Linked DNA regions of Homo sapiens: all the other regions are linked to region 2. The links are contacts of gene promoters, found by promoter capture Hi-C in blood cells and fetal thymus (Javierre and others, 2016). All regions are on one chromosome and are shown on one strand. The core of a region is centred on a gene start or on the middle of the fragment in contact, and the rest is flanking DNA. Distances in the headings are between cores, read along the strand shown.

Region 1 (4,097 bases), core at 709-3,208, 400 kb after region 2:
CTAACCTCTCCCGGAGCAGCAACTCTGACATAGGCCAGGTGCGTGGCTTCCCGGGTAGGGCCTAGTGCAGCACACAGCCACTGTCCAAGGGAATAGGTTATGGCTTTAATGGTATTTCCATGTGAACTTTGAAGTTGTAGAAAGTTAGAAACTTAGGGAAATAAAAACTAAGTATTAGGGAAAATTTCTACCAAGAAGGCAAATACTCTTGTCCCACAGCCAGAGGCGGGGGTACGTGAGCGTCAGTCTCAGCACAGTTGGAATTTCCGCGTGCCCAGAACGGCTGCTCCTCTCCTCACCCCTGCTAAACATCCCTCCCCCTGCCTCTCCCTGCCCCCTTCAATGCTGCCCCTCAGGCAGGAAGTGAACAGGAGCAATTCACTCACAAGGGGTGCCTCTGGGGAAAAGGGTGGCCTCTCTGCAGGGTGTGCCAGAAAGGAAGGGGTGTTGTCACTGTGAAGAGGGCTGGGGCTTGCTCTCAGGAGCCCCAGACTCCAGGAACCTTGAAGGACAAACGATGAAGAATTGAAAGGAACTAGAATCAAACCACAACCAAAACAACGTCACTGCCCTGCCTTAGCTAAGCTAACCTTTTAAGCAGAAGAGGGTAAAGGTTTTGTAAAGGTCCCAGTGGTTTGGAGAAATATCCCATGCTCTCACCTCTGCAGCACCATGGAGTTCACGCCTGAGCTCCAGGAGCCCTCCCCAGGCATAGCCTGGCATCCAGCATGAGGATCTGGCTGTCAAGCTGAGTGAAAGGCTGGGCCATGCACCCACGGGCAGCCCATGAGCCTTCACAGAGCCTGTACTCCATCTGGGGAGAATCTTTGCTTGGTTCCACTGGTTTTCAGAGCCAAGAACTGACTTCACTGCACAAATGCTCACAGTAGCCCCAAAAGAGCAGCGACCACTCATCCTTGGGAGGTTGTGAAGTCCCCCGTGTGTAGATCAAAGGAATCCACGTGTGCTCCTGTGGGGCATTTACTCAAGACAGCTCCTCGCGAACATGAGAGGAAGGTGCTGGCCTGCTGGGCCTGGTAGCTGCTGTAAGGGGAGCATGCCTTGGCCCAGTCTCTGCTGTGCATCCCCTTTTCTGGCTCTCCCTCCTTCCCTACCTGCTTCCTCAGCTCCTTGGCTGAGGTTCCTGTCATTTCAGGGCCCTGCCTGGCCCTCCCAGGTGTCTGAACACCACATGGCCTTTCCCTTGTCATCCTCGGAGTCGCAGAAAGCCCAGTGGCTCTTCCTCCCCTGTGTGTATTTCAGTTGTGTTTAAAGCTTACTCAGGAGAGGTCCTTTTATTTTGCTACTGGTAAATTCATTATTAAATAATTCTTGAAGAGATACAGGCCACTGATTTTCTGCAATTTGCATCACCACACTTTAACTTATATTGAAAGCTGAGGCTTTTGGTCTTCTAGTTTTAGAAGTATATTAATATTTCTGTGACCTTTTCCAGATGGCAGTTGAGAAATACTCTTTTAAATAGCAAGACCGAGAAAACCAATAACCTAAAATGAATATTTCTGACCCGAGTTTAATGAGCAAATTAGGAAAGATAAGTTTTTTCCCAAAGAAAAAATGAAGTCAAGGGGACTTCTAAGTTCAGATAAAATGATATGTCTATATCTATCCATATTCCAAGATATTCAAAGACGGATAGATATACAAAATATTGGAATATGAATATATTGATATATAACGTGAATATATGAATATATCCATATTCCAATTTTTGTAGACGTGGATTCAGATACATCTTTTGATATGCTGTAGCACTTTACACCCCTTTAAATTCCATATTATATCTTACATAATCTGCTTGCATATTAAAAGGATTACACATTTAGTATCCGGATGACAAAATGAAAGATAAGAGAAGCTGTCTGCTCAGCATGGAGGGTGGCTGCCTCAACATAGATCAGCAGCGAGCACACAGCATCTTCTGGTTTCCTGCTGAATGCTCCTCTGTTTCCATAAACGTTGGCCCAAGTGTGGCAGGGCCAAACTTGCCAATAAAACCTGGATTTAGGCTGGGCACGGTGGCTCACACCTGTAATCCCAGCACTTTGGGAGGCCGAGGCAGGCAGATCACGAGGTCAGGAGTTCGAGGCCAGCCTGTCCAATAAGGTGAAACCCCGTCTTTACTAAAAATACAAAAAAAATTAGCCTGGTATGGTGGTACGCGCCTGTAATTCCAACTACTCAGGAGGCTGAGGCAGAATTGCTTGAACCCAGGAGGCGGAGGTTGCAGTAACCTGAGGTCATGCCACTGCACTCCAGCCTGGGCGACAGAGTGAGACTCTGTCTCAAAAACAACAACAACAACAACAACAAACCTGGATTTGATTTTGCAGCCATGAGGCTGCTTCCTGGGAGGGGTCCCAATGGCTGAGGAAGGTAGAGTTGCAGTGGTTTCTCCCACCGCTATCCACATTGTTGAGCTCGGTTCAGCATAAGCTGGACCTCACACTTTGAACACTGAGCTTCTTACCAAGGCCTGTGCCTTAACAGAGGCCACTCCACCATGATGCATGCCAAGGAAGCAACCAGAAGGCCAAGACTTTCCTTAGAAACCAGTCCAGGTGCTCCCAGCAGCATTTGACATGACTGTTATCCTTGTAGTCTATTTAGGCAAGCTTTAGATTATGGACTAGGAGTCTACAATTGCTCACATGATCTTAGAATCATCCCAGGAAAGGACCCATAGGGCATCTACCTTGAAACACTGACTTTTTAGTAAACTTCTCAGGGAAGACTTTGGTTGTATGTCTTCTTAGATAACTGAGTATGAAAGCATAGTACTAAGCCGTTAAATGTTGGGGAATATTTACTCAATATACTAATTTGTGATTGGAAGTCATTCTTTCCAGCAAGTAGACAACAGTCAGTGTTCTGATACCACCCCCTACCCTCAGCTATCAGACATCAGTTCTCCTTGATTTCTGCTTTGCCCAGCACGGTTCCCACTCAGCCCACAGCCCTGCCCTGAGCTCAGCAATCCTGCATTGGAACTGTGCTTAGCACTGTGGGGTTGCCATCCCAGGGCTGTGTCTGGGCCCTGCCCATGGGTCCCTCCAGAGCAGACAGCCTCAATCCTGTGACACTGGCCTTCCAGTGCAGATACCCCAACCTTCCACAATGTGCACCCTACAACCTCAGGGCACCACACCCTCAGCGCCTCTTCCCCACCCCTCCTCTGCCCAGACACCTCTTCCTGCCTGTCCTCACCGGCCCATTGCTGTCTCACTTTATCTTTTATCTTGTGGCTCTGCCCACGGAAGACACAATAAAAACAATGTACCAGCACTGGAAACGTAGATTAACACTGAACACTTTTTAGGGCTTTATTTCCAAAGTGTGCATGTAAGGAAGTAAATCTGTTTCCATTTACAGTTTACAAACTAGAACCAATGGGATTTGCCCTGGAAACCCAGTCTGGGTAACCAGCCAAGTCTGGGCCGGCACAGAGGAAACCAGCGCTCTTCCTGTGCACCTGTAATTAGCAGGTAAGATGAACAGGGCTGAAACAGCTCTTCAATGTCAATTTCACCACTCCATGAGGAATCTACATTTATAGAGGGTGAAATGGGAATTGCTTTGACAACAGTAATTGTGAGTATTATATTTAAACCAACCATAATGAAAAAAATACAATGGCGTCAAATAAAACCACAGTATTGTTTCTGAATATCATTTGGATAGGATGCATAAGGGTGTATTACAACACAAAGTAAAAGAAACAAAAAACAAAACAAAACAAAACAAAACAAAAAAACACTGAAAACCATGTCACCCAGCCCAGAGTCTGTACTGTGCTAAAGGGAGCAAATAGATTAAATTTGGAATATTTTCACTTATTAGAAAATAATTCTGGGTTGGTAAGTTATTCCTACTATTGGATAATTGCCTTCTCTGACCACAAGGGCAATTTGGACAATTATCAGGACATGGACTAATTTTTTTTTCCTAAAACCAACGCTCCATTTTGTGCATGAAACACTCATGGGAAACAAATTAAACGTGAAGCCACGTAGGTTTTAGATTTTTCTGTGTCCACTTTAAGTCCTTTCAGTATTAGGAGATACCTTAGATCCTTG
Region 2 (3,941 bases), core at 1,442-3,941:
TGGCTGCAACCCATGCTACCTTCCCCTGCCCTGGGGCATTACAAGGTCACACGAGATCAGCCTTTCTCAACCAGGGGCAATTTTGCCACCAGGAAACATGCAATGCCTGGAGACATTCTTGGTTGTCACAACTGGGGACTACTGGCACCTAATGAGTAAAAGCCGGATGCTGCTAAACATTCTATAATGCACAGGACAGCTCCCATCACAGAGAATTATACACCCTTAATGTAATAGTGCTGGGATGGTTAATGTTATGTGTCGACTGAAGTGGGCTAAGAGATGCCCAGAGGGCCAGTAAAGCAGGATTTCTGGTTGTGTTCATGAGGGTGTTTCTGGAAGAGATTGGCATTGGAATCTCCAGAAAGTAAACAAGATCCATCCTCACCAGTGTGGGCTGGTAACATCCAGTTTGTTGAGTGCCAGAATAGAACAAAAAGGTGGATGAAGGGCAAATTCTTTCTCTTCTTGAGCTGGGATATCCATCTTCTCCTGCTCTTGGGCCTTCAAACTCAGGATGAATTACACCACCAGCTTATCTAGTTCTCCGGCCTGTAGATGGAAGACTGTGGGACTTCCCAGCCTCCATAATCACATGAGCCAATTTCTACAATAAATCTCTTCTTATATTCCTATATCCATATCCTATTATTTCCAGTTTTCTGGAGAAACCTGACTGATAAAGTGCCATGGTTGGGAAATCCTGCCCTAGATTTCTTTCTTTGGTCCTCGAAGCCTCACCCCTATTCCCCATAAATCCCACACCTGCAAGAAGAAAGGAAATGTAAAAAGAGTCCCTTCTGGGAACGGATGCTGATTCCTATGTAGATTTCTCTATTGAGAGATAACTGTTGCTCAGTAGTTGGACACTACTAGTTCACTTTTTTGAGGATTTCAAAACTGAGGTCTCTCTTCTCTATGGATGTTTTTTTTCCAGTCCTATTGCTTCAAATATCATCTAAACACTTTCAACCCATAACTTTATTTCCTGTCTGGGCCTCTTTTTCTGAGCTGTACTGGACATCTCAAATCACACGATTTGTGGATATCTGAAATTTAATTCCCAAACTGAATCCTTGGTGTCCTTCACCTCCCCACACCCAATACTGGTCCACCCCAGTCTTCTTCCTCTCAGTCTATGACCGTCATCCCCTGCCCACTGGCTTCATCACTGGGTAGTCGTTCCATCCCCTTGACTCCTCCCCTTGTCCAGCAACCTCCTAACATGCACACACACACACGCACTTATGGGGAATATTAGCACGCTTCTTCATCTCAAGCCCCCCCTCCCTCCCCCAGCCCATCTCCTAGAATGGATTCACTTGAATTCACTCCTGGTTTGCAGGAAAGTGCAGAAATCCAAGGAATGTGGTGGGAATTGGTGGTCCAACTTAAAGGGTCTAACCCTTTCACCCTTATCTCCCTCTGATCCATTTTCTACCCCAGAGCCAGAGTGATCTTAAACCATAAGTAAGCTAAGGTTACTGCTTTCTAGAAACACTTCAATGCCTTCTATTACAGTTGGGGGGATACAAATTACGTAACGTGGCTTGCAAGACTCCCCCTCCCCTACTTTGAATGGTCCTTAGGAGTTGGCCTTCTGTCAGGGCCTGGGAGATGCCGAGCTTGATCCTCAGTAACTTTGCAGAGGCTGTTCCCTCTTTGGAGCCCTTCCCTCACTCTTCCCCTTACCAAGGACAATCACTTCTTCGGTTCTCAGCTCCTGTGAGACCCCAGGCGGGAGCATTTGGGTGTGCGTCATTGGAGGGCTCACTTGCCATTCTTTCTCTTTTCCCTCTTTCCTCCAATGGCTCCTGTGGAGGTTTTGAGACTCCTCAATGTCACTCTGCTTCTCTCTCCAGTTCCAGTCCTAACAATAGGAACCCTAGGTGCCCCGCCCCAGCCTGCTCCAGTCCCCTAGGATAGAGCAAGGAGAGCTCTTCCCTGCATCTAGCCTGTGACAAATGGCTCTAGTGACAGCCCTCTCTGCCTTGTTTCCAGTCCTTTAATGAGCTGCCCGCAGCCAGCCTCACTCTCACTCTGCTCTTCACACCCACTGAGCCCCACGCTTGGAGCTGCTGGGGGTCTGCCAGAAAGACCAGCTCCTAAGATCCCTGCAGGCTGTGCCTGCTCAACTTCTCAATGTGGCTTTCTCAGCCCTGCTTTGTGCTCTCATAAAATTCTATCGACTTTGGGGTTTTTTTATAAATTTGTCCAAATTCCACTCAGAGTATTGTTTCATGCATCTCAACTATGATTTTGATGGGTTTGGGGAAGGAAGGTGAGTTCCTGGGTTCTGCTGATATCTGAACCTGGAAATCTTACCCATATTGCTGAGTGCTGCACCGGGAAGTGCAGGCTTACTTTGGGGCTGCCTTCAGGGGCAGGAGGCTGTGTGCAATGCAGGCATCACCTGGTGCAGGGCTGGAACATATCAGATGACTTAATGGGCTCCAAACTTGAAATCAGGGCTGCTTAGTAAAAGATGGGATGTATGTAGAATTACATAAGAAAGATCCAAGCTTCCAGGATTTGGAATGAAACAGTCTCTTCAGAATGTGCTCTCAGGATTCCCAGAGGCGAGCTATTTCTCAAGATTTCCTTGACCTTTGTCACCATCAGGAATTAATGTTTAACTGGCACATGTGGCTGGAAATGCAAGAAGAGGGAAACGTGTGGCTTGGAGTTTCAAGAAGAGTGACTGTCTCAGTGCCGAGTGCCTCAGCAGCTTCTCCACATGCTCTTCAGTCCCCAAAGTTGGAGAATCCCATCAAGGAGAGTAGCCCTGTAAGGAATTCGAATTTCCAGCATGTAAGTCTCTGATTTTATACCTACTCAGATTGTAGTAGTGGAAAACAGCAACATGTACCTTGACTCTCTGGCCCCATGTTACTGAACATTTGCTTAAAGGTTAACTCACTTGAGGGAGCTTGTGTGGTGCTTTCTCTTCTGCTGCAGGCTGGCAGGGGTTTTTGTTCAGTGGGGGCTGTGCACTTGGTGGCTCTCCATGCACACACAGTCACTCCAGTGACACATGTTTGATAGGTGCTGGGAATGATTTCATGACTGGCTCAGTAGCAAATGCGGGCCAGATGTGATTCTATTTTTTCCATGCACCACCAGGGATGGTGTTGGGTATTTTATTCCCCCAGCCTCTGTTTCTTCTGTAAATGAGGATTTTCTTAGTATCTACCTTGTGAGGATTAAATCCCATGATTTTATGGAGGTGATTAGTAAATGTGAACTCTGCCCTTCCCTTTATAACATCTGAGGCTCCGTCAGGGCTCTCTCCTTTTGGTGTATGTTATAGTTTACTTAGAGGTCAATTTGGTGTCTACCTATGCAGTGTGATTTGAGGAGAATTAGAAGATCTTTCCCACCAACTTGCCATGCTGAGTACAATTCCCATCTGAAAACATATGCGGATAGGAATTTCTATTGGGAGAATTGTTCGGTTATCGACTTCAAGGAGTCGAAGTTCTCCTGGTTTTAAGTCTGTTGTCGGAAGTATATAAGAATCAAAGCTTAATCGATGGAAATCATTGCTCTCCATCATGCGTGAGTTAAAACCATTACTTCTGAGTGGTCAGTTTACATTGGGCTCTGTCTAGAAGGTTTGCCTTCTTCACCTCCAGTCACATCCCCATTTCACAAGTGAGCAAACAGCCAGAGGAGGGGAGGAGGATGGCATAAGATCTTGCAGCTGGCAGAGACGAAATGTGAATGTAGCCCGTTTGCACTTGGTGCTGTCGGGCAGCCAAGCAATCCAGTGTGTAGGTCCAGGGCGACAAGCGCTGCTCCCATGGCTGGGGTAAGTCCCTCCAGCATTCAGCCTTGCTCCCTGTGCTTATCTGGATGCGGTGTAGGATGAAGATGACCCTATAGAACTCTACCCTGGAAGTCCTGGCAAAGTGGATATGTGACATTTTTGAAACCAGGGA
Region 3 (3,811 bases), core at 144-2,643, 450 kb before region 2:
CCTGTTTTCCCACGGCAGGAATTAATTGATGCGGGCCACACGCGTCATGACACTTGGCCTTGACCACAGACCTTGTAAGAAATGATTAGACATGTGACAGTAACAGGAGGCCCCAAACCAGGAAAGAGAAAAAACACACCAACTCTCTTTTCATCTAAGCCCTAGGTCCTCATATGTGCATTAGAGAACTCCAAGTTGCTGTGACGAGGGAATAGCAATTTCTATCAGGATGTGAATGTGACCCACAATACAATTGCATCACCCCTGGTTTAGTTGCTCGTAATGTAAACCTGTGGTGTGCTTTGGTTAATGTGAAATTGTTCTGAGGCCTAGGGGTCAGTTCTGTCTTTGCAGACTCTTTGCGTGTGACTGTTCTGCTTATTGCAGCTCTACTGAGTCAGCTGCCTCTTCTGCAGGTAGAACGGGGAGGAGCCTCCTGGGAGAAGCACACCTACCACAGTGACCATCCTCAGGGCCAGCAAATGCTGTTCTCCACTCCTCCAGAGCTGTTCCCCACATTTGACCAGCTCATTCCTGACTCATCCCTTTGTTCCTTTATTAACCTCACGTCTTCAGAAAGCCTCCCTCAGTCTAGATTAGGTTCCCAATACAGCGTCACATAATTTTTCCTTCATAATGCAAACCACAGCTCTAATTTCTCTAGCAGTTGGTGTGGTTTTTGTTGGATGCTTGCCTTCCCTTCCACATCACAAGTTCCATGAGTCTTGCCCATCGTGTCATGTGATGGAAGGGTAGACACGCTCCCTGGTGCCTCCTTGATAAGGCCACCAATCCCTTCATGAGGTTCAACCCCCATGACCTCATCAAATTCCAGAGTCCCACCTCCTAATACCACCATCTTGGAGGTTGGGATTTCAGCATGTGAATTTGGGAGCACACAAGCATTCAGACTGTAACACTCCCCCTATTAATAAGTGGGGCCCTCAGGAAACATCTGGCTAAGTGGAGCACTGTGTTTGTACAAGTAGATCAGAGGTGTCTGATCTTTTGCCTTCCCTAGGCCACACTGGAAGACAAATTGTGTTGTACCACATATAAAAAACACTAACGATAGCTGGTGAGCTTAAAAAAAATTGCAAAAAAAATCATATATATATATATATATATATATATATATATATATATATATATATATTTTTTTTTTTTTTTGAGATGGAGTTTCTCTCTTGTTGCCCAGGCTGGAGTGCAATGGTGCGATCTCAGCTCATGCAACCTCTACCTCCCGGGTTCAAGCTATTCTCTTGCCTCAGCCTTCTGAGTAGCTGGCATTACAGGCATGTGCCATCATGCCCAGCTAATTTTTTATTTTTAGTAGAGACGGGATTTCTCCATGTTGGTCAGGCTGGTTTCGAACTCCCGACCTCAGGTGATCTGCCCGCCTTGGCCTCCCAAAGTGCTGGGATTTCAGGTGTGAGCCACTATGCCCACCCTCATAATGTTTTAAGAAAGTTGACGAATTTGTATTGGGATACATTTAAAGTGGTCCCAGGCCATGAGTTGGACAGGCTTGAAGTAGATGTTAAATCCCCACCATGGGAGTTCAGGAAGAGGGCCCGAGAGAACCTAGAGAAGAGAGGGATATGGAGGAGCATCAGGAAAAGGGCAGGTGCGCCCAGTGTCAAGACAGACCCGGGTGGTGTCGATCCTCCCAGTTCTTCTGGGCCTTGGGGCTTCACTTCCTCATCTGTAAGATTGATGCGAGGGATGTGTGAGAGAGCATGCACAGGGCAGGGTCTGCATCACCACCACCATCACCATCACCATCACCATCACCACCACCACCACCATCGTCACCACCACAGTTACCACCACCATCACCACTGCCACAACCACCGCCATCACCACCACCACGATTACCATAACCACCGTTACCACTGCCACCACCACCACAATTAACCACCATCACCACATGGAAAGTACCTAGAATACTTCCTGTGTGCTTACCATGTGCCAGACACCATTTAAAGTGTGACACAAGTCCACTCATTAAAACATCAGCTTAACCAAACAAGCAGTTTATTATTGTCATTATTATGGGTATGTCTCCAATATAAAGATGAAGAAACTGAAGTTATAGAGGGTAACTCGTCCCACATCAAATGTTAGTCACGATCCTCTCAGGCACACCTGAGCAGAGGGCAAGGCCTCAGATGCGTACCCACACAGCCCAAGAGGCAGTGTCCTCTGTCTGGACCAGGACCCCAGGGCCCACCTCCCAGTTCCCTTGACCTCGGGCCTCTGCATCCTGCTAGTCGTCCTTCCCTGGCAGCTTTTACGAGGAAGCTGGAGCGTGAGAAGGTCTGTGAGGACAGCCCTGATCACAGCCTCCTTTCTGCAGGTCAAAGGAACTGGGAAGGGGGTTCCAGGAGTACTATTGCAAGAGTGGCTGTGCACAGAGCTCTCTAGCACCAGAAGATCTGCATCCTGGGCTTATTGACATACCAAATAACTGTGAATCTCTCTTCCCTGCAGGTGCCCTTGCTCGTGTGAATGAACAGAGGCCAGAGAATTGCAGAAACCCACCTGTAATATGCCCACAGGCGTCACTCAAGGAGTCTGCATAGCCAGGAACATCAAGTTTTGGTGTTACTTTCTTGTCTACAGGCCAAATGCGCACAGTTGATTTTCGGTGTGTTCCTGTATAACGGCTTGAAAGGAAAGGAGAAGATGCTGTGTCGCTGCGCAGCTCGTGTGCCAAGGAAATGTGTTTTGCCTCTGAATATCTTAAGTTGCTAATAAACGATTCTTGTTGGCAGGTTAATGGGACTATAAATGCTGGAGCCCAGCACTCACACTTAATTATATTTATGGGCAAAGTAAAAAGAATCATGCCTTAGACTGATTTTGGACCTTTGAGACTTTTACCACATACAGATGGATGAAACTACTTACTGATTTAAGATCTTTTGAATTTTAGAAAAAACATATGAATCAGATGGAACAATCTGAATGTGATATGCTCCATGATGCTGTGTGTTTTGGTAGTAAGAAAAAAAAATTGGGAGGCTTTTCAAAGGTGGCTTTGTTAGGTAGTAAAACTGCTGGATTCTTCTTCCTCAAATATTTGGGGCTAACACTTCACAGAGGGTCACAGTCCATGATCTGACCAACTAAGCTTTTAAAAATCAACTATTACCACCCAGAAAACAGTCCTACGTGATCATGTGGCCAGGGCATGCCCGAGTCCTGCAAGGGTGGCGGGTGGCTGAGGTCACACCACCACTGGAGTGGATGGGCAGTGCCCCACATGGACAGCCATTCCCCAGGCTATGAAGTGACATAGGCCTCCCCCACGGTGCCTGTGTACGGAGCCTGATGACTTCACTGGGAGCCTTCTGGAATCCTGCAGAGGGTCAAGGAGCAGGGATGTTGGATGCCCACCTGTCAAGAGTTCAGATCAAAGTTGCGCTGAGAGCATCACAATTTTGGTTCAGCCTTGACGCGTTTGTCCAACAGCTCATTGGCTCCCTTTGTATGATATCGTGGTCTTCTCACATGGTGCCCAGTCACCAATATTTATAATGAGGTCTAACTACAGCAGTAGTTTTTCATATATATCTCTAAAACATTTTGTTATATTGAAAAAAGTAATAGAAATCAAGATGTGTTGATGAAATAAAATGTGTATCTGAGTGAGAAAACAAGTATGGTGAGGTCACTTTAATGTTTCACAGCGATCTCAGATCTAGGCCTCAGGTAGAATGGAAGCTGTTCTGCATTCACTGATTAACGTTGCTAAACTCTTGGTGAGGCACGAGCTACCAGCCAATTGCTCTTCATCACAGCTATC

The links. The method cuts DNA at HindIII sites, captures the fragments that hold promoters and counts their contacts. A CHiCAGO score of 5 or more calls a contact.
Region 1: a contact is called between a fragment that was not itself captured here and the fragment with the promoter of DDC in region 2, in 4 of 17 cell types (neutrophils, total CD8 T cells, naive B cells and 1 more). The highest score is 8.8, in neutrophils.
Region 3: a contact is called between a fragment that was not itself captured here and the fragment with the promoter of DDC in region 2, in 1 of 17 cell types (erythroblasts). The highest score is 6.5, in erythroblasts.

Annotation. Positions count from the first base shown.
Region 1 is chr7:50,164,120-50,168,216 of GRCh38, reverse strand. No RefSeq gene overlaps it. Among named protein-coding and RNA genes, the nearest start is that of SPMIP7, 70 kb to the right of the region's middle. The HindIII fragment of the contact is 1,361 bases long and covers 1,278-2,638 here.
Region 2 is chr7:50,564,155-50,568,095 of GRCh38, reverse strand. It overlaps DDC (dopa decarboxylase), which reads left to right and starts at 2,691. Exons shown (of 15, transcript NM_001082971.2): 1 at 2,691-2,811. The HindIII fragment of the contact is 1,002 bases long and covers 2,525-3,526 here.
Region 3 is chr7:51,016,251-51,020,061 of GRCh38, reverse strand. COBL (cordon-bleu WH2 repeat protein) reads left to right here. Exons shown (of 13, transcript NM_015198.5): 13 at 2,494-3,811. The coding sequence ends at 2,511. Among named protein-coding and RNA genes, the nearest start is that of GRB10, 240 kb to the right of the region's middle. The HindIII fragment of the contact is 3,491 bases long and covers 1-3,138 here.